7 separate regions of the Homo sapiens genome follow, and regions 1, 2, 3, 4, 5 and 7 are each linked to region 6. The links are contacts of gene promoters, found by promoter capture Hi-C in blood cells and fetal thymus (Javierre and others, 2016). All regions are on one chromosome and are shown on one strand. The core of a region is centred on a gene start or on the middle of the fragment in contact, and the rest is flanking DNA. Distances in the headings are between cores, read along the strand shown.

Evidence for each region. Contacts are between HindIII fragments. The CHiCAGO score rates a contact against its expected background, and 5 or more counts as called.
Region 1: a fragment that was not itself captured here is called in contact with the fragment with the promoter of FERD3L in region 6 in 2 of 17 cell types (M2 macrophages and M0 macrophages); the score reaches 5.6 in M2 macrophages.
Region 2: a contact is called between a fragment that was not itself captured here and the fragment with the promoter of FERD3L in region 6, in 1 of 17 cell types (M1 macrophages). The highest score is 5.4, in M1 macrophages.
Region 3: a contact is called between a fragment that was not itself captured here and the fragment with the promoter of FERD3L in region 6, in 3 of 17 cell types (M0 macrophages, M1 macrophages and megakaryocytes). The highest score is 6.6, in M0 macrophages.
Region 4: a contact is called between a fragment that was not itself captured here and the fragment with the promoter of FERD3L in region 6, in 1 of 17 cell types (M1 macrophages). The highest score is 5.4, in M1 macrophages.
Region 5: a fragment that was not itself captured here is called in contact with the fragment with the promoter of FERD3L in region 6 in 2 of 17 cell types (megakaryocytes and M0 macrophages); the score reaches 6.3 in megakaryocytes.
Region 7: a fragment that was not itself captured here is called in contact with the fragment with the promoter of FERD3L in region 6 in 1 of 17 cell types (M1 macrophages); the score reaches 6.5 in M1 macrophages.

The regions. Positions count from the first base shown.
Region 1 is chr7:19,606,642-19,609,985 of GRCh38, reverse strand. LOC105375180 (a long non-coding RNA gene) reads right to left here. Exons shown (of 5, transcript XR_007060245.1): 4 at 664-727. Among named protein-coding and RNA genes, the nearest start is that of MIR3146, 97 kb to the left of the region's middle. The HindIII fragment of the contact is 5,642 bases long and covers 1-3,344 here.
Region 2 is chr7:18,684,110-18,687,986 of GRCh38, reverse strand. All of the region lies in intron 12 of HDAC9 (histone deacetylase 9), which reads right to left. Among named protein-coding and RNA genes, the nearest start is that of HDAC9, 190 kb to the right of the region's middle. The HindIII fragment of the contact is 481 bases long and covers 1,042-1,522 here.
Region 3 is chr7:19,654,754-19,658,586 of GRCh38, reverse strand. The region is part of intron 4 of LOC105375180 (a long non-coding RNA gene); the gene reads right to left. Among named protein-coding and RNA genes, the nearest start is that of MIR3146, 49 kb to the left of the region's middle. The HindIII fragment of the contact is 5,700 bases long and covers 1-3,833 here.
Region 4 is chr7:18,711,325-18,714,870 of GRCh38, reverse strand. All of the region lies in intron 12 of HDAC9 (histone deacetylase 9), which reads right to left. Among named protein-coding and RNA genes, the nearest start is that of HDAC9-AS1, 190 kb to the left of the region's middle. The HindIII fragment of the contact is 166 bases long and covers 2,183-2,348 here.
Region 5 is chr7:19,634,766-19,638,425 of GRCh38, reverse strand. The region is part of intron 4 of LOC105375180 (a long non-coding RNA gene); the gene reads right to left. Among named protein-coding and RNA genes, the nearest start is that of MIR3146, 69 kb to the left of the region's middle. The HindIII fragment of the contact is 4,454 bases long and covers 41-3,660 here.
Region 6 is chr7:19,143,580-19,147,237 of GRCh38, reverse strand. FERD3L (Fer3 like bHLH transcription factor) reads left to right here and starts at 1,817. Exons shown (of 1, transcript NM_152898.2): 1 at 1,817-2,456. The coding sequence starts at 1,876. The coding sequence ends at 2,376. RefSeq lists enhancers at 771-1,419, 1,885-3,084. The HindIII fragment of the contact is 4,985 bases long and covers 1,682-3,658 here.
Region 7 is chr7:19,584,734-19,588,548 of GRCh38, reverse strand. The region is part of intron 2 of LOC105375180 (a long non-coding RNA gene); the gene reads right to left. Among named protein-coding and RNA genes, the nearest start is that of MIR3146, 120 kb to the left of the region's middle. The HindIII fragment of the contact is 3,470 bases long and covers 1-3,076 here.

The sequences.
Region 1 (3,344 bases), core at 308-2,807, 460 kb before region 6:
GAAACGTAAGAAAGGGGGAGAGGGAGGAAAAGAGGAAGAAGGAACAGAGGGAGGAAGGTAAGGAAGGTCAGGAGGGAGGAAGGAAAGAAAAAAGGAAGGAGGAAGGATACAAGCAAGCAAGCTGGCTGCTGCTACTAATATTATATATACAGTATAATATAAAAATATATATTAGAGAACCCATATATTATGATTCAGATAATTAAAAGTTAGAACAATAGACTGATAATCATAAAGATTTCCAAGCTGTATGTATTCCATAAATTTAGAAAATACAGGGAAAATGAGAGAGGTGTGCTCTAGGGAATTATAGGAAAGTAAAGGTAGATAATCTGTACTGTAATGAGGTACGACAGCAAGTTTCTATGATGTTCCCCTTCCTGTGTCCATGCACATGTACCCTAAAACTTAAAGTATAATAATAATAAAAAAAAGAAAGTTTCTATGGAGGCAGTGTTCTAGTCATTCTAGTCACTTTGACGTTGATAAGCAGTATATTTGTAATACTGTGTAGAGGCTGGTGCGTCATATAAACCAAATATAAATGGACACATTTCAAAGTGCTACATGGATTATTTCTAACACAACTGTTCAACTGTAGTTTTGTTTCTCATTATATGAGAAATATATCTTTGACCATAGGATTTGTTCCAATAGGCTTACCTAGGGTTAGCTGCAATTCTCTGATGGCTGGTGAGCTCCTGTTCATTCCTTTTTATCCAACAAGCTAGATAGGAAAGCAACCAATGAAGAATAATATTATTATGGAAATTATCTTATATTTGCTTCTCTTTTTTGTGAAGAGATACATATCATATTCCTTTATTTAATTTTAAGCCCTCTTTTAGTTTTGTTCCCCACCATTTCTTTTTTTCTCTAATTTTTTATATTGTGGTAAAATATACATAATATAAAATTTACCATCTTAATCACTCGTAAGTGTACAGTTCAGTGATATTAAATACATCCATATCGTTGTATAGCCATCACCACCATCCAACTCCACAACACTTTTCATCTTGTAAAACTGAAACTCTATACCTATCAAATAATAAGTCTCCATTTCTCCCTCTTCCTCATCCCTGACAATCACTATTCTACTTTCTATGTCTATGATTTTGACAACTCCAGGTAATTCATATAAGTGGACTCATACAATATTTGCTTTTTTGTGACTTGCTTATTTCACTGCCATAATGTCCTCAAGGTTCATTCATATTATGGCAGATTGCAGAAGTTACTTTTTTAAAGGCTGAATAACATTTCATTGTATGGATATACCACATTTGTTTACTCTTTCATCCACTGAAGGACACTAGGGTTGTTTCCACATTTTTGCAATTGTGAGTTATGCTACTATGAATATGGATATGCAAATGTATTTTCAAGACCCTGCTTTCAATTCTTTTAGGTATATACACAGAAGTGAAGATGCTGGATCATATGGTAATTCTATTCATAATTTTTTGAAGAACCACTCACTATACTGTTTTTCACAGCAACTACACTATTTTCCATTCCAACCAGCACTACACAAGTGTACGAATTTCTCCACATCCTCATCAACACTTATTTTTACTATTTTTTATAGTAGCCATTGTAGTCTGTGTGAGGTGGTATCTCAATGCAGTTTTGATTTGCATTTCCCTAATGATTAGTGATTTTGAGCATCTTTTTATGTGCTTATAGGCCATGTGCATATCTTCTTCGGAGAGATGTGTACCCAAGTACTTTGCCCATTTTTGCATTTTGTTATTGTTGTTGTTGTTATTGAATGTTAGGAGTTCTCTACATATTCTGGATATTAATTCTTTAGATGTATGATTTACAAATATTTTCTTTCATTCTGTGGGTTTTCTTTTTACTCTGTTGATAGTGTCTTTCGAGGCACAAATTATTTTTTTAGGAAGTTTAATTTGTGTATTTTTTCTTTTGTTGCCTGTGCCTTTGGTCTCATATCCAAGAAATCATTGCCAAATCCAATGCTGTAAAGCCTGTGCTCTATGTTTTCTTCTAACAGTTTTATTTCTTTTAGTCTTATATTTATGTTTTTGATCCATTTAATTTTTGTATATGTTGTTATATAAAGTTCCAACTTTATTCCTTTGCTTGTTAATATCCAGTTTTCTCAGCACCATTTATTGAAAACTGTCCTTTACCCAGTGGATGCTCTTGACAGTCATGTCAAAAATCATTTGACAATATATGTGAGGGTTTATTTGTGGGCTCTCCATTTCACTAGTCTGTATTTGTACCTACACCATACTGTGTTGATTACCATAGCTTTGCAGTAAGTTCTGAAATCAGAAAGTGTGAGTTCTCCAGCTTTGTTCTTTTTTTCAAGACTATTTTGGCTACCCAGTTTCCTTTGAAATTTCATATACATGTTAAGATGAGTTTTTCTATTTTTACAAATAAACATTATTGGGAATTTATTACTGTATTGAATCTATAGATTTCTTTGGGTAGTATTGATATCTTAACACTATTAAGCCTTCCAATCTATGGTCATGGGATGTTTTCATTTTTTTATGTCAACAATTTCTTTTACCAATGTTTTCTAGTTTTCATTGTACACGTCTTTCACCTACTTGGTTAGATTAATCCCTAAATATTTTATTCTTTCTGAAATGATTGTAAATTGAATTATTTTATAATTTCCTTTTCATATTAGTTATGTTAGTGTATATTAATGCACCTAGTTTTTGCATGTTAACTTTTTGTCCTGCTATTTTGCTGAATTCATTTATCATTTATAACAGTTTTTGATTACTGAACTTATATTAATTCAATCTTCTTACTCGCTATAGAAGTTTATTCAGGTATTTTATTTCTTGATGATTTAGTTTTACAGGTTTTATGTTTCTAAAAATTTGTCCATTTCATCTAGGTTATCCAATTTTTTGACAAGCAATTGTTCATAGAACTCTCCTAGAATCATTTATTGTGCTGTAGAATCAGTAGTAACATCTGCACTTTTATTTCTAATTTTAGTAATTTGAGTCCTCTTAACTCTTTTTCTTAGTCTAGCTAGTTAAAGGCTTGTCGACTCTATTCATCTTTTCAAAGAACCACCTTTTGGCTTTAGTGATTCTATTTTTTCTATTATTTATTTCATTTATCTATGTTCTACTTTTTATTATTTCTTACTTCTGCTAGCTCTGGGCTTAGTTTGTTCTCTTTTTCTAGTTCCTTAAGGTGTAAAGTTAAATTGTTGACTTAGGATCTTTCTTGTTTTTTTAATGTAAGTATTTATAAATTTCTCCATTAGTACTGCTTTCACTAAGTCCTATTAAGTTTTGGTATGTTGTGTTTTAATTCATCTTTAACTATTTCCTTATGTG
Region 2 (3,877 bases), core at 33-2,532, 460 kb after region 6:
TAGCTACCTCACTCCTTCACACATTACATTAGGGAAAAATTCTATAAAGTAAAAAGTTATCTAGCCAGAGTTTATACCAGATACTGTGGAAAATTTATTGGGTAAAGACTAAAACAATCTTTATTATAAGAGACCACACCTCAATATACAATGAAGAAAAATGTTTCCCTTGTGAAAAAACATAATAAAATATGTCCATCTAACTAGTCATGAATCCCTGCAGAAATACACAGCTTTCCCTCTTCTTCCCTTTCTGAATTCCTATTCATTTTGAGTCAGGATAGCCTAGTCCATTAATTAACCTTCAGGTCTTTGAGGTCACCTCCTTGGATCTGTTCTCGATATGTTGAAATAATTTATTCCATAGTGAATATCAAAGATACCTGAATATTGCCAAAATAATGATGTCCTGCATCTACTACTATACCCGGAGATGTGAAAAATAAAAGAATGCAAAATTCACTGAAGGACTTTTGAAAAGTATAGATGTTATTTATCCCAATATAGACATTTATTTCCCATCAATGAGGGTTCTATGATAGTATCAATTATAACATAAAAATATTGTTGTAAATTATATCATACACCTTTGAATATCTGTTATTTCAAGAAGAGTAAACTAGTTTGTGGTTTTGCAAGCAAATACACATAAAGGGATCTGGCATGGCCAGTGCATTGAGTAGAAGATTTATTTAAATGGTACCTACTTAAATCGGTTGTACTATTTACTAGCTTATGTTACATATTGAACAGCTTATTGCCTATGCTGGAAAATGTGTTGCCCTAGGAAATGTGTATATACAGAAATAACATTAAGAAGCTACACTAAGAATTTTGATAGGATTAGAAAGCATAAATGTTTATTAACTATTTATATTTATGTAAAGCACATGGTACTTGGAAAATTCAGACTTTAAACAATTATAAAAATATGAACTCTCAAAGCATACTGTATCTGTTCCTATCATGTAGTACCTAACATCTTTTATCTAATAATTTTATATATGTATAATTTACCCTCTTCTTATCAGGTTATAAGCTTATTGGAGCCAGGCGGGACCATGTCCAATATTTAAAATAATGCCTTGCACATTCTGATGTGTGATAAGCAATTAAAGAAATGAAGGTTTATGTTAGATTAGTTGAATTATTTTATGAGGATTTTTACATATGAAGGTGAGAGGATTCCAACCATTCTTTTAAACATAGTGTTTTACTATAACTATGTACGGAGAAGAGGAAAAAGTTTTGTATAAATGTTGACAGAGTTAAAATTTCAGAATCCACCAGGTAGGTTAAAGAGACTTCAGCCATTTGTGAAGAATTTATGCCAGGCTATATATCTAAATTCGTGTTTCTCTAGATATTCTAAGAGGTGAAGGGAATGAATATATATTTAGACTTTAAAACATTAATACATAAGGCAAATTCCACATCAAGTATGTAATATAAGAATGGAAGAGTTGGGGATTTCATAAATGACATTTGTAGTCTTCCAAGCCATGACCACAAGATGTAAGCTTTATGAACTAGAGATGAATAGAAGAATTAAAAATGCTAAGACATGTGTTTAGTATGAAGGAAAAAAGCAGGGCCACAACTGTGAAGCCATCCATACAGTGACTTCCTGACTGATAGGAGTTTTTCACATTCCATCTTTGCCTTTGCTTTCTACAAGTGCTGGAACATTACCATGAAAATAATTGGAGGGAGTAAAGAAGACTTGGTTGAAAAGTTAGCATAGTAGCAAATGGCTTTTCTGATTTGATGTTGAAAGTACTGTATTTTGAAGTTACATTGAATAGTTTATGAGTCAGACCTGAGTGTCTGTTACTGTATCACCACAAATTGACTGAGACTCCAAGCCAGCCTCTCAACCTTTCTGGATATGGATCAGGGATGGAATCTGAGCTCTATCATAGTTCAGATGTATGACTTCTGCTTTACCACACTGAAGTCTTCATTTTTTCTTTGGTAAATATGAAATGGTGATTAAATGATAAACATAAATTACTGGGTATGGTGTTTGGCAATTAATTAGCTTTCAATCCCTACTACCTTTCATTGTTGTTATTGTTGTCATTATCTAACATTCCTACCAACAATAAAATTTTGCCATTCTACACTATTTTTAATAGTGTTTAAACTTTAAATACTGGCACACGCTATTTCTGCATATATTTTATGACTAATTTAGTTAGGTTATTTTCATTCCTGAGGAATATCAAAAACTCTGTCGCATAGAATGTTTCTTCCATCTCACCCCACCCCCCTTAGGAGGAAATCTATTTGCCAATTCTAGTTCAAAAATAGTAAATCAGCATTCACTTGACATTTTCTTAAACACTGAACAAATCTTTTTTCTACTAGTTAGAATTTTAAAGGAAATTATATGAACATAAAAGAAAAATAATTTTTAAAACTAAGATGGTCATTCAATATTGGTCTGTCTTCCTGATAACTGTCAAGAAAGCTGTGGCTATATGTCATCTTTACATGTCAGCATGGGTGAGCAAACCATAGTCTTTCGATGAAGATCAGGATTAACACTTTCAATTAACAAATGAGGAAACTGAGGCATAGAACACCTAGAAATTGTATAGCTGGCCAAGAACAAAAAAAAAACTGGCTCTTCAGATCTTTGCTTCTCCATCACATAGGCCAGACTGGTTGGGTAAGCTGCTTCCCATGGGTAAGTGGAAAAGGGAGTGATATAGTTAGAACACACAATGGATGGTATAGCACAGTGCATAATGACACTTCATTTTATGAGCTTTCCAGCAAAACACCAGTAGATTCCATAGCTAGAGAACTGCTGTTTGACAGTCTTTTTTTATTTCAGTGTACTCCAACTAACCTTTCTAGAGGTTGTGGTAAGCCACAGTGAGGGTGGAGGACAGTTTCTCTCCATAAATTATCTTCAAAGAGAGATTCAGACGAATTTTATTTAACAACAAAAAAGTGGGAGGACCTTGAGGAGGAAAAGTAACAAGGAAAAGAAAACCACATAAAACTGAATAGAGAGGATCATGTTACAGAAGAAACCATTTTCCTTCAAATTTCAAATGTTTAAAATCAAGAGAAATGATGTGATAAAAAACTAGAAGATTGGCTTTAGAACATAACTTAGGTGGAGGGGAGTTTTCCATGACACCATTAGGAAAAGTGTGCAAAGAAAAAAGTTCACTCATAAATATACATATACATATAAATATATGTGTATATATATTGTGTGTAGGGGGTTACTTCATAAACCAACTGTCTCTTGGGGTAGGAAATAAAGTTCCCAAGCTGTTGAAGAATAATTAGTCTATATCAAATTTTAGGACCTTGATCTTACGTTTAAAATTAAGAGATATGTCATTTTAAATCTGGGTACCTTGCTCAAAGGTATCCATTCACACTCATTAGGACACAGTTCATCAGAAGATGCCTTTAAACCATCTAAAAGTTATCAGTTGGTGTATTAAAGCCTTTTCAGTATAGTTTTATTGTTTGTTTGTTTGTTTGTTTGTTTGTTTGTGAGTTGTTGCACCTCAGGTTGGTCTTGAACTCCTGGGCTCAAGCAATCTGCCCACCTTGTCCTCCCAAAGTGCTGGGATTGTAGGTGTGAGCCACTGCACCTGGCCTAACAGGATAGTTTTGATGAAAAGAAAGTTTTTGTTGTCAGTAAAATGGATCAAATATTGTTTTCTGGTCCTCATGAGTTAAATATTCTTACTTTTTTTTTTTTGAGATAGGGTCTGGCTCTGTTGCCAGGCTGGAGTGCAGTGGGATGATAGGTTCACTGCAATCTCCGCCTCCAGGCTCAAGTGACTCTCCTACCTCAGCCTCTGAAGTAGATGGGACTACAGGCATGCACCATCACACATGGCTT
Region 3 (3,833 bases), core at 1,158-3,657, 510 kb before region 6:
CAAAGAAAGGGGCACATTCCCTACTGGTCAGCAAGCCGTTCCCAGTATGGATCTCCACTGGGACCTAGACTCAGATCATGGAGACTGGAGTCATAAATATCTGTGGACCTGTGTCCTAGAAAGACTAAGGAGAATTAGGAAAAAGTACACGAATTATTCTATGATGTCCACCATAACTCAGGGAAAGGAAGAAAATCCTTCTGCCTTCCTCAAGCAGCTACGGTAGGCCTTAAGAATATATACTCCCTTGTCACCCAACTCACTTGAAGGTCCATTGATCCTAAAAGACAAGTTTATTACCCAATCAGCAACAGTTATCAGGAGAAAGCTCCAAAAGCGAGCCCTGGGCCCTGAACAAAATCTGAAGGCATTATTAAACCTGGCAACCTTGGTGTTCTATAATACGGACCAAGAGGAACAGGCAGAAAAGGAAAAGCAAGATCAGAGAAAGGCTGCAGCCTTAGTCATGGCACTCAGACAAACAAACCTTGGTGGTTCAGAGAGAACAGTAAATGGAGCAGGCCGGTCACCTGGTAGGGCTTGTTATCAGTGTGGTTTGCAAGGACACTTTAAAAAAGATTGTCCAGTGAGAAACAAGCTGCCCCCTCGCCCATGTCCACTGACATGGCAAGGCAATCACTGGAAGGCGTACTGCCCCAGAGGTCAAAGTTTCTCCGGGCCTGAAGCCCCCAACCAGATGATCCAACAACAGGACTGAGGGTGCCTGGGGCAAGCGCCAACTCATGTCATCACCCTCACTGAGCCCCAGGTACATTTAACCTTTGAGGGCCAAGAAATTGACTTCCTCCTGGACATTGGCATGGCTTTCTCAGTGTTAATCTCCTGTCTCAGACAGCTATCCTCAAAGTCCGTTACCATCCGAGGAATCCTGGGACAGCCTGTGACCAGGTATTTCTCCCACCTCCTCAGTTGAAATTGGGAGACTTTGCTTTTTTCACATTCCTTTCTTGTTATGCCTGAAAGTCCCACACCCTTATTAGGGAGGGACATATTAGCCAAAGCTGAAGCTATTGTCTACGTGAATATGGGGAATAAGTTACCCATTTGTTGTTCCCTGCTTAAGGAGGGAATCAACCCTGAAGTCTGGGCATTGGAAGGACAATTCAGAAGGGCAATTCAGAAGGGCAAAAAATGCCTGCCCAGTCCAAATCAGGTTAAAAGACCCCACCACTTTTCCTTATCAAAGGCAATATCCCTTAAAGTCTGAAGCTCATAAAGGATTACAGGATATTGTTAGACATTTAAAAGCTCAAGGCTTAATAAGAAAATGCAGCAGTCCCAGCAACAAATTCTAGGAGTACAAAAACTGAACAGTCAGTGGAGACTAGCGCAAGATTTTAGACTCATCAATGAGGCAGTAATTCCTCTATATCCAGTTGTACCCAACCCCTATACCCTGCTCTCTCAAATACCAGAGGAAGCAGAATCGTTCACTGTTCTGGACCTCAAGGATGCCTTCTTCTGTATTCCCCTGCACTCTGACTCCCAGTTTCTCTTTGCCTTTGAGGATCCCACAGACCACAACTCCCAACTTACATGGATGGTCTTGCCCCAGGGGTTTAGGGATAGCCCTCATCTGTTTGGTCAGGCACAGGCCCAAGATCTAGTTCACTTCTCAAGTCCAGGCACTCTGGTTGTTCAGTATATGGATGATTTACTTTTGGCTACCAGTTCGGAAGCCTCATGCCAGCAGGCTACTCTAGATCTCTTAAACTTTCTAGCTAATCAAGGGTGCAAGGTGTCTAAATTGAAGGCCCAACTCTGCCTATAATAAGTCACATATCTAGGCCTAATCTTAGCCAGAGGAACCAGGGCCCTCAGCACGGAATGAATACAGCCTATACTGTCTTATCATTGCCCTAAGACATTAAAACAGTTTTGGGGGTTCCTTGGAATCACTGGCCTTTGCCAACTATAGATCCCCGGATACAGCGAGATAGCTAGGCCCCTTTATACTCTAATCAGGGAGACCCAGAGGGCAAATACTCATCTAGTAGAATGGGAACCACAGGCAAAACAGCCTTCAAAACCTAAAAGCAGGCTCTAGTACAAGCTCCAGACTTAAGCCTTCCCACAGGACAAAACTTCTCTTTATACATCACAAAGAGAGTGGGAATAGCTCTTGGAGTCCTTACTCAGACTCATGGGACAACCCCACAACCAGTGGCATACCTAAGTAAGGAAACTGATGTAGCAGCAAAAGGTTGGCCTCACTGTTTACAGGTAGTTGCGGCAGTGGCTATCTTAGTATCCGAGGCTATCAAAATAATACAAGGAAAGGATCTCACAGTCTGAACTATTCATGATGTAAATGGCATTCTAGGTGCCAAAGGAAGTTTACGGCTATCAGACAACTGCCTGCTCAGATACCAGGCACTACTCCTTGAGGGACTGGTGCTTCTAATACACATGTGTGGCCCTCAACCCTGCCACTTTTCTCCCAGAGGATTGAGAATGAATCGAGCATGACTGCCAACAAATTATAGTCCAGACTTATGCCCACTGAGAGAATCTCTTAGAAGTCCCCTTAGCTAATCCTGACCTTAACCTGTATGCCGATGGAAGTTTATTTGTGGAGAATGGGATATGAAAGGCAGGTTATGCCATAGTTAGTGATGTAACAGTACTTGAAAGTAAGCATCTTCCCCAGGGACCATCACCCAGTTAGCAGAACGAGTGGCACTTACCCGAGCCTTAGGACTGGGAAAGGGAAAAAGAATAAATGTGTATACAGATAGCAAGTATGCTTATCTAATCCTACATGACCATACTGCAATATGGAAAGAAAGGGAGTTCCTAACCTCTAGGGGAATCCCCATTAAATACCACAAGGAAATCATGGAGTTATTGCAAGCAGCACAAAAACCCAAGGAAGTGGCAGTCTTGCAATGCCGAAGCCATCAAAAATGGGAAGGAGAGGCAGGGAAAGACCAGCAGAGAGGAAAGAGACAGACAGAAAGTCAAAGAGAAAGAAAGAGGTGGTGGGGAGGAGGGAAAAGACAGTCAAAGAGAGCAGGAAAGAGAGAGAGAGGAAGAGACAGAGAGACAAAGAAGGAGTCAGAGAGAGAGGAAGAGACAGAGAGACAGAAAGAGAGACAGACAGAAAGGCAAAGAGAGAAGGAAAGAGAGAGAGAGAGATAAAAGTATAAAGAAAAAACTGTGTACCCTATTCCTTTAAAAGACAGGGTAAATTTAAAACCTATAATTGATAATTGAAGGTCTTATCCATAACCCTATAACACCCCAATACCACCTTGTCAGTGTAAACAGGGGCGTAGCCCGAAAGCACTGAGGTCACTCACAACCCATAGCCTTCCTACTAAAAATCCTTAACCCAGGAAGTTTCCTAACAGGGGATCTAAATCTTAATTAATTACCATACAAAGGTCCAACTAGACCTAGGAGGAACTCTCTTCAGGACAGGACAATAGATGTTTCCTCCCGGGCGATTAAGGGAAAAAGACACAGGGGATATTCAGTAAGTGATAAGGAAACTCTTGTAGAAGCAGTTAAGAAAAATGCCTAATAATTGGTCTGCTCAAATGTGTGAGCTGTTCGCACTCAGCCAAACCTGAAAGTATGTACAGAATCAGGAAGGAGCCATCTATACCAATTCTAAGTTAATATGGACTGAACGAGGTCTTATTAATAGCAAAGAATAATTGAAATCCCAAACTTCAAAGGTTTTCAACAAAAGTAAGTTTGCTACCAAAACCACTAAGGCCTAGACCTCCTCACTACTGAGAAAGGAGCACTTTGTGCCTTCTTAGGGGAACAGTGTTGTTTTTACACTAACCAGTCAAGGATAGTAC
Region 4 (3,546 bases), core at 1,016-3,515, 430 kb after region 6:
CATAGTAGAAATTAGAAGATACAATGGTGGACTCAACAGATCCAGTCACTCTTCTTCTGAATTTACAATCTGGTGAGGGAGACAAATATTCACCCAGTTCCACACAAATAATTATAAAAGAGCAATGGAGGTAAGAGTTATGAAGAGTAGTACAGGGTCCTAAATTAGAAGCAACCAAGAAAAGCTCCTCTGAGCCAAGAGATGAAGAATGAGAAGGGTTTAGCTTGGCAAAGAAAGAAAGAAGAATGTTCCATGTAGACAGCATAGCATGTGGAAAGTCACTCTCGTGACAGGGCACCTGGTAAATGCCACAGAGCAGGTGCAGGTCAGCATGGCTATTCATAAGGGTGAATAGCCCTTATTCGTAAGACTCCATAAGACTGCTGGTTATGGAGATTCTGGGGAATGAATAGAATTGTGGAGGCCATGCAGTACTTGCACCCTATCTAAGGAGGCTGACTCTCAAGCCTAACAGCAACAGCAAGTCAGCAAATAGCTTTAGATTCCAGGAGTTTGGGCCTGAGGATTGAATTAGTTTAACAGGGTTGATAAGAACAAATTTGCATTAGAAATGATTATTCCAGCAGAAAAATAACCTATGTTTTGCGTAGAGTAGGCAACTTAATCTTCACACACCTTGCTACGCAAATTAAATGACGTTATTAAAAAGTGCACAGGATTCAGAAAAAAACAAACTCCTTGGTTTGTACTCCAGCTCTACCACTTTACAAAGATGCAAATTAGGAAAACTTTATTTGAACTCTCAGAGCACATCTATAAAATAAAGAAATGACAGTGTATTTGATAAGCACTTTTTCTTCCAGAATAAGTGGTTTATCTGCAAAAAAGACTAATCTAATTAGCATTGTTATTTAAACGTTCATAGTATCAGGTATTTCTCCAAATAGGATAAGGAAATTGATCATTAATATATCATTGTTATCAACGACTTATTTTTTAAAACTCAAATTGACTCTATTACCAAAATACGTTATAACAAGGTGTTATTGAGCCAAACTTCTGCCTTCTTTCTGATATCCATCACCAATGCCACAGTCATCAGTTATGACTAGTCACAACTAGATATTGTTTAACAGTCTTTAACCACTTCATTAACCATCTACTATGGTGCTTCTCAGCCTCCATGATCATTTAGCTCCTTATGCAGAATTATGCACATGTTGATTTTTCTTACATATATTTTTATTATAATTTACTAATATTTTTATATTAATAAATCTTCTTGCATAAATGCCCTACATCCTTATGAGGATGACAAGACAAATCTTTCTAAATCTGTTGTGATGGCTCCATTCTTTTGAAAAATTAATTGTAATTGATAAATAAGAGTGGTATATATTCATGGTGTTAAACATGATGTTTGATCTGTGTATACATTGCGGAATAGCTAAATCAATCTAATTAACATATATGTTACCTCACGTACTTAATTATTTTGTGTCTCTGTTCTTACATATCTTCTAACAATTGGTTTTTGAGATAGTCCCTGTATTTAGTCTCATGGGTCAATAATTTTTATCAACTCATCTGCAATGCTCATCACCAAACTATTATCCTAACAACACTGTTTAATAATTTGGCCTATAGCAACCAAAGGTATGCAGATTCTGCTAAGTGGTCTCATTAGTTGTCATAAATTGTCACATCTATCAACAGTCAAATTTTTTTTTTATGACACTCATTTCTCACAATTATTTTTAGTGGTCACTGCCCACAAAATAGACTTTTCTGTTCTGCTATACAACTTGCATTGCTTTTGCGTCAAGTTATGTTAACTTCAGTTACCTGATTTTAACTATGCTCATCAAACGGAACAAAGAACAAATGGATAATATAATATGATTAGACAAGGCTTAACAATTTGGTTTAAGACCTTGTCTGGTATTATTTGGTTTTAGTGCTACAGATTCAGCTCTAAATAGAATCAATAGAAACAAAGTAAATCTCACTAAAATAGTTCCTGGCTTACATGAATAAACTCTTGCATATAAAAGTTATTTCATCTCCTTGAAAGACATAAAATAATATTATTATGCACATTTATGCACATGCTATTATAATTTGTAAAGTATCAAACATTGCTATTCAAAATTATACTTGTAGGCTCAATAAGCAATATAAATAATATGTTAAAGTGGTTATATTCAATTATTGGCAAGCTTAACTTTATTTGATTTATAACATGTCAATGAACCTGCAATACCTAGGATTTACTGGCATTGTTTATCCTCTGCTTGGTTCTTCAGCAGAGTCATCATCATAATATTTGTTCACAACTTGAGTAAAGGCTAAAACAGTTCTCATCATTCTTAGATGTTAACTAAGCTTGTTATTGCTTATACCTGCAGATTTAAAATCATGCTTTTAGTTATTAGTAGCTATTTATAAATTGACACTGAAACAGGAATTATTGTAAACTTGCAGAATAAGTGACTATGGCATTCTACAATAGCTCTATGCACTGCTGTTTGTTTATCATGCAATAGTCCCACATGCTAGAGCCCATCCCTTCTCTAGAACATGGAGTTTGAAGCAAGGTTGGTAGAGAAGGTTGTTGCCGCTGATGAAAGAGAAAAAACTGAAAGCAGTTAATGAAAAATTTGTCAACATCTTTAGGGATTTTAACTTAATCAGAAAACAATGAGAAGTCGCTGATGTATATTAAAGAATGAAAAAATGTGATTATATTTAAATTTAAGGAAGACTTAAAGTACCCCTATTTATTTAAATTGGAATTCAAAGACTGGCTATGGGCAAACCTGATGAGCCATGACCAGTGCACTACTAAGGGGTTTACTACACATCCTTCATCCTGCACACTGGCCCACTACATCCACTGGGCATTTGCATTGATTGATATGAGTTTGATTTATCTTTGTTTGGTTGACTGTTTTCCCGAAGGAAAAAAAAAAAAAAAGAAGTATGGTGAGAAATGAGAGAAGAGATGGGAAAAGACAGGGAATGGACAGCCCCGAACAAAGTGTGTTCTCTGTTGAGCCTGGTGAATGGCTATTTGAGCTCCAAGAGAAAAGGCCTTCAGGAAGAAGTAGAAAGAACTGTGTCATATGAGATTTATAGCACAAGTGCTGTTCTTTTGTGGCAAAATGAAACAGTTTGGAAGACAGCGTTCCTCTCATTTGTGACAAAAAAGTCATTGAGGGCTAAAAGGAATGAAGAGTCACTTTGCACTCTGAGGATTGTAAAGTTTTGAGAACTGTGAAGCAGCAACCCCAAGTGTGGGCAGGGGTGGTGGGTGTGGCAGACCACAGCTGGTATTGGTGGCTCTCAACTGAGCACAGACTCATTCCTCAACACGTGCAAGACTCCCTCGAGGAAGACCCGGAAGTACCTGAGAGACACTGATTATGGTGTTAGGACTATTGTGACAGCAGGAGGTTAGTAATCAAAACTAATATGAGCTTATTTGTAAACACTAGTCAACCACTTGGGTTATTAAACTCCAGTAGTCAGACTACCAGAGACTTTACATTAACTCAGTTGACAGCAGCCGGAACCAGAGTTGCA
Region 5 (3,660 bases), core at 1,018-3,517, 490 kb before region 6:
AAAAATTTTAAGAAGTAAAAAATATTAAAAATAAAAAGCTTATAGAATAAGGCTATAAAGGAAATATTTTTGTACAGCTGTAGATGTATTTAAGCTGTATTACAAAATAGTCAACAAATTAAACTTTAAACGTTCATAAAGTGAAAAAGTTACAGTAAGCTAAGGTTAATTTATTATTGGAGAAAGTAATTTTTAAAAAATAAATTTAGTGTCGTCCGAGTGTGCTGTGCTTATAGTCTATAATTGAATATGGTAATGTTCTAGGCCTTCACATTCACTCATCTCAATCACTCACTGACACATCAATACCAACTTCCAATCCTGTAGACTCTAATCATGGTAATTGCCCTATACAGATGTACCACTTTTTAAAATCTTTTATACCATATTTTACTGGAGTTTTCTATTTAGATGTACAAATACTTACTATTGGGTTACAATTGCCTATAGTATTCAGTACAGTAACATGCTGTACAGGTTTGTAGCTCAGGAGCAATAGACTATACCACCTAGGTTTGTGTTAATATACTTTATGATGTTCCCACTATCACAGAGTCACCTAAGGACACATTTCTAAGAATATATCCCAGTGTTTACATGACATATGACTGTATACATAAAATTTTTGGTCTTCATCTCTTAATATTTCTCTTTCATAGCCTAGTAATTTTATATCTTTATCCTCTTTTAATACTTTTTTATTTTATTTTATTTTATTTTATTATTATTATACTTTAAGTTTTAGGGTACATGTGCACATTGTGCAGGTTAGTTACACATGTATACATGTGCCATGCTGGTGTGCTGCACCCATTAACTCGTCATTTAGCATTAGGTATATCTCCTAATGCTATCCCTCCCCACTCCCCCCACCCCACAACAGTCCCCAGAGTGTGATGTTCCCCTTCCTGTGTCCATGTATTCTCATTGTTCAATTCCACCTATGAGTGAGAATATGCAGTGTTTGGTTTTTTGTTCTTGCGATAGTTTACTGAGAATGATGATTTCCAATTTCATCCATGTCCCTACAAAGGACATGAACTCATCATTTTTTATGGCTGCATAGTATTCCATGGTGTATACGTGCCACATTTTCTTAATACAGTCTATCATTGTTGGACATTTGGGTTGGTTCCAAGTCTTTGCTATTGTGAATAATGCCACAATAAACATAAGTGTGCATGTGTCTTTATAGCAGCATGATTTATAGTCCTTTGGGTATATACCCAGTAATGGGATGGCTGGGTCAAATGGTATTTCTAGTTCTAGATCCCTGAGGAATCGCCACACTGACTTCCACAATGGTTGAACTAGTTTACAGTCCCACCAACAGTGTAAAAGTGTTCCTATTTCTCCACATCCTCTCCAGCACCTGTTGTTTCCTGACTTTTTAATGATTGCCATTCTAACTGGTGTGAGACGGTATCTCATTGTGGTTTTGGTTTGCATTTCTCTGATGGCCAGTGATGGTGAACATTTTTTCATGTGTTTTTTGGCTGCATAAATGTCTTCTTTTGAGAAGTGTCTGTTCATGTCCTTCGCCCACTTTTTGATGGGGTTGTTTGTTTTTTTCTTGTAAATTTGTTTGAGTTCATTGTAGATTCTGGATATTAGCCCTTTGTCAGATGAGTAGGTTGCGAAAATTTTCTCCCATTTTGTAGGTTGCCTGTTCACTCTGATGGTAGTTTCTTTTGCTGTGCAGAAGCTCTTTAGTTTAATTAGATCCCATTTGTCAATTTTGGCTTTGGTTGCCATTGCTTTTGTTGTTTTAGACATGAAGTCCTTGCCCATGCCTATGTCCTGAAAGGTAATGCCTAGGTTTTCTTCTAGGGTTTTTATGGTTTTAGGTCTAACGTTTAATTCTTTAATCCATCTTGAATTAATTTTTGTATAAGGTGTAAGGAAGGGATCCAGTTTCAGCTTTCTACATATGGCTAGCCAGTTTTCCCAGTAGCATTTATTAAATAGGGAATCCTTTCCCCATTGCTTGTTTTTCTCAGGTTTGTCAAAGATCAGATAGTTGTAGATATGCGGCGTTATTTCTGAGGGCTCTGTTCTGTTCCATTGATCTATATCTCTGTTTTGGTACCAGTACCATGCTGTTTTGGTTACTGTAGCCTTGTAGTATAGTTTGAAGTCAGGTAGTGTGATGCCTCCAGCTTTCTTCTTTTGGCTTAGTATTGACTTGGTGATGCGGGCTCTTTTTTGGTTCCGTATGAAATTTAAAGTAGTTTTTTCCAATTCTGTGAAGAAAGTCATTGGTATCTTGATGGGGATGGCATTGAATCTATAAATTACCTTGGCCTGTATGGCCGTTTTCACGATATAGATTCTTTCTACCCATAAGCATGGAATGTTCTTCCATTTCTTTGTATCCTCTTTTATTTCACTGAGCTGTGGTTTGTAATTCTCCTTGAAGAGGTTCTTTACGTCCCTTGTAAGTTGGATTCCTAGGTATTTTATTCTCTTTGAAGCAATTGCGAATGGGAGTTCACTTATGATTTGGCTGTCTGTTTGTCTGTTATTGGTGTATAAGAATGCTTGTGAGTTTTGTACATTGATTTTGTATCCTGAGACTTTGCTGAAGTTGCTTATCAGCTTAAGGAGATTTTGGGCTGAGAGAATGGGGTTTTCTAGATATACAATCATGTCATCTGCAAACAGGGACAATTTGACTTCCTCTTTTCCTAATTGAATACCCTTTATTTCCTTCTCCTGCCTAATTGCCCTGGCCAGAAATTCCAACACTATGTTGAATAGGAGTGGTGAGAGAGGGCATCCCTGTCTTGTGCCTGTTTTCAAGAAATAACTAACATCAGAGCAGAACTGAAGGAAATAGAGACACAAAGAAACCCTTCAAAAAATTAATGAATCCAGGAGCTGGTTTTTTGAAAGGATCAACAAAACTGACAGACTGCTAGCAAAACTAATAAAGAAGAAAATAGAGAAGAATCAAATAGATGCAATAAAAAATGATAAAGGGGATATCACCACCGATCCCACAGAAATACAAACTACCATCAGAGAATACTACAAACACCTCTACGCAAATAAACTAGAAAATCTAGAAGAAATGGATAAATTCCTTGACACATACACCCTCCCAAGACTAAACCAGGATGAAGTTGAATCTCTGAATAGACCAATAACAGGCTCTGAAATTGTGGCAAAAATCAATAGCTTACCAACCAAAAAGAGTCCAGGACCAGATGGATTCACAGCCGAATTCTACCAGAGGTATAAGGAGGAACTGGTACCATTCCTTCTGAAAATATTCCAATCAATAGAAAAAGAGGGAATCCTCCCTAACTCATTTTATGAGGCCAGCATCATCCTGATACCAAAGCCTGGCAGAGACACAACCAAAAAAGAGAATTTTAGACCAATATCCTTGATGAACATTGATGCAAAAATCCTCAATAAAATACTGGCAAACCGAAACCAACAAGAACAAAGACACAACATACCAGAATCTCTGGGACACATTCAAAGCAGTGTATAGAGGGAAATTTATAGCACTAAATGCCCACAAAAGAAAGCAGGAAAGATCCGAAATTGACACCCTAACATCACAATTAAAAGAACTAGAAAAGCAAGAACAAACACATTCAAAAGCTAGCAGAAGGCAAGAAATAACTAAAATCCCGAGTAGCTGGGATT
Region 6 (3,658 bases), core at 568-3,067:
TTTGAAAGATGCTTAGCAAAAATCAACTAAGTAACAACCAAAGATCTCATTCTCTTTAACATCTTCCAGGATCACAAATTTCAATTATTCTCTGCCTGAGTTATCACAATTCAAACTGGAGAATGAAGAGTAAACACAAGCAAAAGAAGATAAAATCTATTAAAAGATCGAGAGACACCAGACACAAATGGGTTAAAAGAAGAAGAAGAATTAAAGGTTATACTGTTTTGATTACACACATAGAGGCTAGGAAGAAGAAAATGAATTGAGATTACCTGTTAGAAATAGGCGGTTTCTGGTTTCTGGGAGCTGTCCAATGTACTGAGTGAACCATCATAACCACAACTTACCCCCTTAATAGGGACTGACGTCCTGGGCAGTTCTCTTTTGAACCGGGATGTTTCTACATTCATCTTTTTAGGCTATTTCTTCCAATCTACCTTTAAAATTATCTTCTAATCTGTCACTTTGACACAATGGGTCTTTTAAATAAATCTTTACACAGTACTGAATAATTAAGTAAATATAGTTATTGGCAAACAAAGAAAAAGAACCTTTTTGTTAAAATATTTGGGATACTCGAGATAATATAAAATGAGTAATCTCTTATTTTTCTTATGCCAAATTTAAAATCTCTTTCTTTTCTCAAAAATAACGATCTAACGATAGCCAAAAACTCCCTTAAATATATTTCAATAAATCATTGTTTCTGCACTTAAGTCTTACTGTAGGACAATACAAATCAATGAGGAAAATACGCCAGATGGAAGTGTTAGGTTTTTTTCTTTGTTCGGGAACAAATACTCGATCCGCAATTTAAAAGTCCGAAGACTCCTCAGCAGAGGGTGAGCTGATTGACTCTTTGGCTTATCAAGGGCAAATCGCATTTCTGAAAAGAGCTTGAAGTGGTTTTGTTTGTGAGGAGAGTTTGCTTTGTCCCCCACACTGAAAAGTATACAGCAAAGCCCGAGCATAGAAAATATCCTGAGCTTAAATTTCTCATTTTATTGCCATCATAACTTTTCCTCTTGGAATAAAATCCTCTATTTTATATGAGTAGGAGGTAAAGGTAGGGAAAGGAAAGTCAAGTATCTCAATTGTTACGCTGATTGCATCCAAACAGACTTTAGAAGTCAGGGTTTGTAACGTGGCAGGAGAGCTGTTTGCGATGCCCTGGAAAGAAAAGAAAGCCGGTTCCAACAGCGACTCTGGGGAATGCACTCTCGGTCCCCCTGCCATGCTTACTTAAGCTAATTGAAGGTCTTGCCTTTCAGCAGCCGCTGCACTGGGATACCAGACAAACAGCTCCCCTTGATGCCAGGCAGGCAGGGCCCCTCTTCAGGACATCATTAAAAGCACATGCACTTGCTCCACATCCATTGGCAGATGGTGGCAAGATTCAAGACTCCTACCCTGAAGTCAAGGAGAAGCCATCGCGGTGGAAAACATCCTCGCTTTGAAAATCCAACACGAAATTAAAGAACTACACGAGATAAGGAGCCTGGAGAACATTAGTTGGCTGCAGGGGTGAAGACAGACACAAAAAGCACAGCAGGTAAGAGCTGGGGGTTGTTGCCAACAAGGAACTGTCCCGGGTGGCGCAGAGAAAAGGATCTCAGAACTGGAGCCCTGTCCCTTTGAGTCTTCCATGCGTGCTCAAGCTTGTCATCTTCCATAAGCTTCGAGAGAAGGGACGTTGTCAGAGCATTCCTTATCGGTGCGACTAATCCTGTTATCAGCTTGGTTATAAATATTTAATGTTCCCTGGCCTTTCGGTGATGGTGCCCCATCAGATTCAAGGCTGTTAAGAATCCCCACCAGCAACCTCGCCCCTCCCTGCGGAAAACCGATGAGAGGCAGGGCCAAGCCGAAGCGATGGCGGCCTATCCGGAGAGCTGCGTGGACACTACGGTGCTGGACTTCGTCGCAGACCTGTCCCTGGCCTCCCCGAGACGCCCTCTCCTCTGCGACTTCGCACCCGGGGTCTCCTTGGGGGACCCAGCCCTTGCGCTCCGAGAGGGAAGACCCAGGAGGATGGCGCGGTTTGAAGAGGGGGACCCAGAAGAAGAGGAGTGCGAAGTGGACCAGGGGGACGGAGAAGAGGAGGAGGAAGAGGAGCGCGGAAGAGGTGTCTCCCTATTAGGCCGCCCCAAGAGGAAAAGGGTGATCACCTACGCCCAGCGCCAGGCCGCCAACATCCGCGAAAGGAAGCGGATGTTCAACCTCAACGAGGCCTTTGACCAGCTGCGGAGGAAGGTGCCCACGTTTGCTTACGAGAAAAGGCTGTCCCGGATCGAGACCCTCCGCCTGGCCATCGTCTATATCTCCTTCATGACCGAGCTCTTGGAGAGCTGTGAGAAGAAGGAAAGCGGCTGAGCCTGGTGTGGAGAGTCTGCCCTTCCTCGTCTGGTAGTGCTGGGGTGTGTCAGGACCGGGCACTGGGTGAGGCTAAAGGGCCGGGAGGGAGGCCCCAAGACAGAACGTCTGGTCTTCTGGAGGTCGGGGTCGAGATTGTAAGATCCCCACATGCGCTGAGCAGAGTGGCTGCTGTAGAGTTCATATCTACGCGACCGCCCTAAGTGAAGTCGGGGTCAGGGGCGAGCGGGGAAGTCAGAGAGCGTGAGGCTGAGTCGGGGCCGTTCAGGCTGCTCCTAAGAGCTTCCGTGGGCTGGGTGGGTGGGAAGTGAACCCTCCTCGCAAATGGCAGACTTTGGAGCTTCTATAAAATCTAACCTCTCTTCTTTACATTTTTTTTTTCATAGAGATAATAAAGTAGAAATTCTTACGTTTTTAAAAAGCCTGAAGGGTCGGTGGTACGCCATCCCCAGCAGGCGCTCCAGCGGGCGCCTGCGTGGAGGGTCTGAAGCAGACGCCGCAAGGGTGCGGGGGTGCGAGCTTTTCTGCTAGCCAGAGGGTTCTGCCTGGTCCTCCGAGGCTTGTCCAGGAACTGAGGAAAGGAAAAATGGAAGGCAGAGCAGTCGAGAGGAACTGCTGACAAAGTGCGACCTCTGAGAAGGGACACCCTTCCTGTCTTCCATTCCCTCTCCCTCCCGTCCCTTCCTCTCTCCCGCGCGCAAGCCCTCTCTCTTCCTTTCTCCCTCCCCTTCGCCACCTAGTTGATCCCAGACGGACCACAGCTCCTTGTCCCAGGGCCACAGTGGTGTTCATTCAGTGCCTTAGCCAGAGTGCAAATCTACGCTTTGCATCTAAAGTGCAGCATCAGCTTCCGTGTTCCAGTGCCTTCTTCAGGCCCCAGGCCAGAGTAAGGGGCGAGTGCACTCGGGTCACTCCTGGGCCGCAGGGGGCCTTGGGCGCCCTGCAGCTTCGCCACCAGCCACCGCTACCAACTGTCCCCGGCCAGGGGTTGGGGTATGAAGGGGCCTGGATCTTTCTAGGAGCAGGGCCGCCTGAGCGCGCTCACTTTTACATTTTTAGCTGTAGGTAGGAAAGATAGCTTTCACTCTAATGGCTTCTAGAGACTACCAGGGGAGACAAAAAGTCCAAAGAGGAGATGCCTTCTGACGCCTTGCAAAACGCCTGCCATGCAGATGAGGTTGAAGCGGGTCCATGCTGAGAGGCCGCCTCTAGTTTGGACCCGTGCCATTCCAGGATTCTTCCTTCTAGGTGACGTGCTAGTACCAGAACTGGGGTCTTTCAG
Region 7 (3,815 bases), core at 92-2,591, 440 kb before region 6:
CATTAATGCTAGTGCAGGGTATAGAAAAACACCGATTTCACAGAAAGAATAGATGCATAATCACACATTAACAGCTAGCAGTTTTCAAAGCATATATTTGAAGGCTTCAATAGAAATCAGTTTATAAAATCTCAGTTCTTTGAGACAGATTAATTACATAAAGAAAACCTAACACTTAGGGCCCTGAAGCAGGAAGCCTAATATCTATCAGTAGGCAGGTTTAGATAAGAACCAAGGGAGGCACAGAAATGAACTACTTCCCTGCCCAATTTGGCTAAGCCTTCCTACCAATTCCATGCTGGAGAAATTAGAACTGATACAACATTATCCTTTTTAAAAAATAACTTACTGTGATTTAAATACAAAGTAAACTGAATATGGGGAATCACTTTCAACATACCCACTTGTCAATTTCTTCAAGTCCTAAATTTAAAAACTGCTATCAATTGCTGCATATAGGTTCCCAGACAGCATAGAACCTCCCTGATTATGAGAGTCAAGGTGCTGGTGCTGAGTTATGACAAATCTAGATATGCAGTTCCTTTAAACGCCTTTCTCAGAAGCGTACTTTTGTCTGGCTGTACTCGCAATGACATTGTTTTGTTGCAAAGAAAAACATATCTAACTCCTGAAAAAAGTGGGCAAATCATTTCATTTAGAGATACACCCTTAATAATAGAAAGAAAATAATCTAAACATAATAATAAGACAAAATAGAATGTTATTTATCATTATTACTACATCAAATTGCTTTTGGTCTGAAATTTGTCCTCTAATGAGTCTGGACTTTATAGTTCTGGTCTCATCTCATTTACTATTTCACAGCATCTATAGTCAAAACGCCAGGCACAGTGTACATGGACCCTTTCCTAGCATCTTACAAAGCTAAAAACAAGGTATCCATATGGCTGGAGTCTCATCTGGAATTTGGGGTACTCTGTCAGGTTTACTCAGGTTGTTGGAAGAAGTTTTCTGCAGTTGCAGGACTGAGGTTCCCTTCTTCTTGGTGGCTATTGGCCTGGGACCACACTCAGCCCCTAGAGGTCATCCTAAGTTCCTTGCCACATCCCTCAACCACAGTCTATTAACGACATGGTGGTTGCTCTTTCAAGGCCAACAAGGGAATATCTCTGTCTCTTTTAATCCTTCTGACTTATTTTAAGGGTTCACCTGATTAGATAGGGCCGGTCCAGGATAATCTTTCTCTCATAAACTCAATTTATGTGAGACTTTCATTATATCTGTAAAATCCCTTTACAGACCCACCTAGATTACTATTTAATTCAATAAATGAAAGAAAATGTGTATAACAGAGGGGTGGGGATATTGGGGCCATCTTAGAATTCTGCCTTCCACAATCATATGCTTAACTCAAAACTCATCATCATTATTGTCCCATGTATGACTATTTTATTGATTTACTTTTACATTTATTTAATACTATAATGAATAGCTACAAACCTCCTGTTCAACTCAAGAAGCAGAGCATAGTAATAATTACCAATGTTTACCAAAATGTACTTCCACATTCTATCTTCCTGATAAGCAATAGCTTTCTAAATTTCATTTATTATTCATAATACTTAACATTTTTACCAATATACATGTCCACATATTTCATTTCACTTATTCTGAACTTAAGATACACTGTAAGTATTCTGCTGGGACTTGCTTCATCCGTTGTGCTTGTATAATGTTATTACTTCCATCTCCTTGGTTGGTATAACTTCAGGGGTTTGATTAAAAAGCCTTTTGTACATCTTGTAGATAAGAAAACTAAGGTATAGAAAGCCCTTACAATATCATTTTGTATTGGTGGACTTTTATCACCAAAACTCACTGTCATTTCTACTGTTTAGTACATTTCAATGAAATCACCTACAGTATATTAAAAGATGTTTATTTGTACCATTATAAATAAAATTTGAAAACTTTATTAATGAACCAAATTATGCTAAAATCAGTAAAACTCTTCCCAATGTGTCACGATACAAATAACAAAACACAAAATTATCTTGTCAGAGTGGTTAGAATTTCTGCAGTACCCCTTTATAAATTATAGAAAAAGAAACATAATAAGTAAAACTCTGGATTTAAACTGACTTTTTCAAAAACCACACAAACCACTATCTGAAATTCTCAAATGATATTCCTGGCAATTACTGTGTATTTATTGAATAACAATGAATGGTTAGCATCCCATAACAGGCATAATATAAAATATTTGTAGAATGAAAAACTTCCTGTAATACATGTTGTTATTATTGGAAGGAGTAACTTTAGCAGGATAAGCAATGCTTTAAAACAGGAGTTATTGCCACTTGATAGAGATGGTATAGTGTAGTACAGCTAAAAGACAGAGTGGTGGGTAGTAAAAAAGTTAGTATTTCTTAAACTTTATGATCTATAAGGATAGGTTTCTTTATACAAGGTATTGGATGAAGGAGGAAAGAAGTTGACTATTTCCTTCAGCTAACTGTGTGTTTGGAAAGGGACCCCCCTTAGAGTCACGAGACCAGATGGTTATGCGATAGCTGCATTTATCAGGTCTATCAGCTACCTCCTTTTGCATCATCCATTCCTTGTGTTATTGCACAACCACCAGAGACATCAGTTATTAGAGAGTGGGTAGAGAGGAGTAAATATTTGGATGCAAAAAGGACAGATCAAGAACAAGATATGACTATATGAAATATAACTTTAGGAATATCCCTTGCTTCTGCCTCTCCAACCCCCAAATCTTTTATATGGTGTTCTGTGTCATTTTAACTGTGCACAGTCAAATGAAACTGAAATTTACTTTAGCAACAAAATGAACTTAACAGTCCTGAATCCTGCCTCCTGTCTGTCATTTTCCTCTTCCTTTTAACTAGTGTTGCCTATGACTATCTCCCAGACATTTGTGTAGTTCACTCATCTTAACTTGGTTGTCTCCTTAAACAATTAGGAGTCCATGAACTTTATTGTGAGAATGAATACTGACCTCTTACGAGCATTTCCTAATCCAGTGTGTCCTGTCCTGTCTTCCATAAATTGATTTTTTAGACTATTAGATATTGAGATAATTAGAAAAGCTTAGGCCAATTGGGATTACATATAAAGGCCATAAAACAAATAAATAAAATAGAGTTTAATGAACCAACTATAGACCACAAAATATAATTACAGCAGCAGCAGCAGAGATTTATAAAACCAAGAATGTCTTCTCTTGTTTAGTATACTTAGCTCTTACTGTACTTAGCAGGAAAATTTGCTAATTACAATAAGGTAATCTTAAAATGACAACGTATACTTTAAAATCTTAAGACACATTAGAATTCTAAGTAATCATGACAGAATTTAACTTGTTGAAAAGCCATTTAATTTACCAATAGTACTGGTACACAGGTGAATAAGGAATTCAATAAGTAGCAAATGAAATAGATCACTGATGGCCCCAATAATGAATATTTGGGGCTACAAGTCTCTATATCAGCATTGAGTGTTTTTGTTTTTGATCACATAGCAACTGTGCCCTGTCCACAAGATCATAGGCTCATGGAATTTTTTTCAGGACCTACTAATTTGTGCTAAAAATCTTATGAAAAATATCACCAGCTTTTAATGACACAAAACTTTCTCTTTAAATTTTCATTTAATTTAAAAGATAATTGTATATCCACATGCTATTGTAAAAAAAAAATAAGAGATTTCATGTATCTTTTAACCAATTCTTCCCAATGGTAACATCTTGAAAACTGTAATCCAATATTGCAATCTTAATATTGACATTGATACAGTCAAAAAACACAGCATTTTCAATATCACGGGTCCCT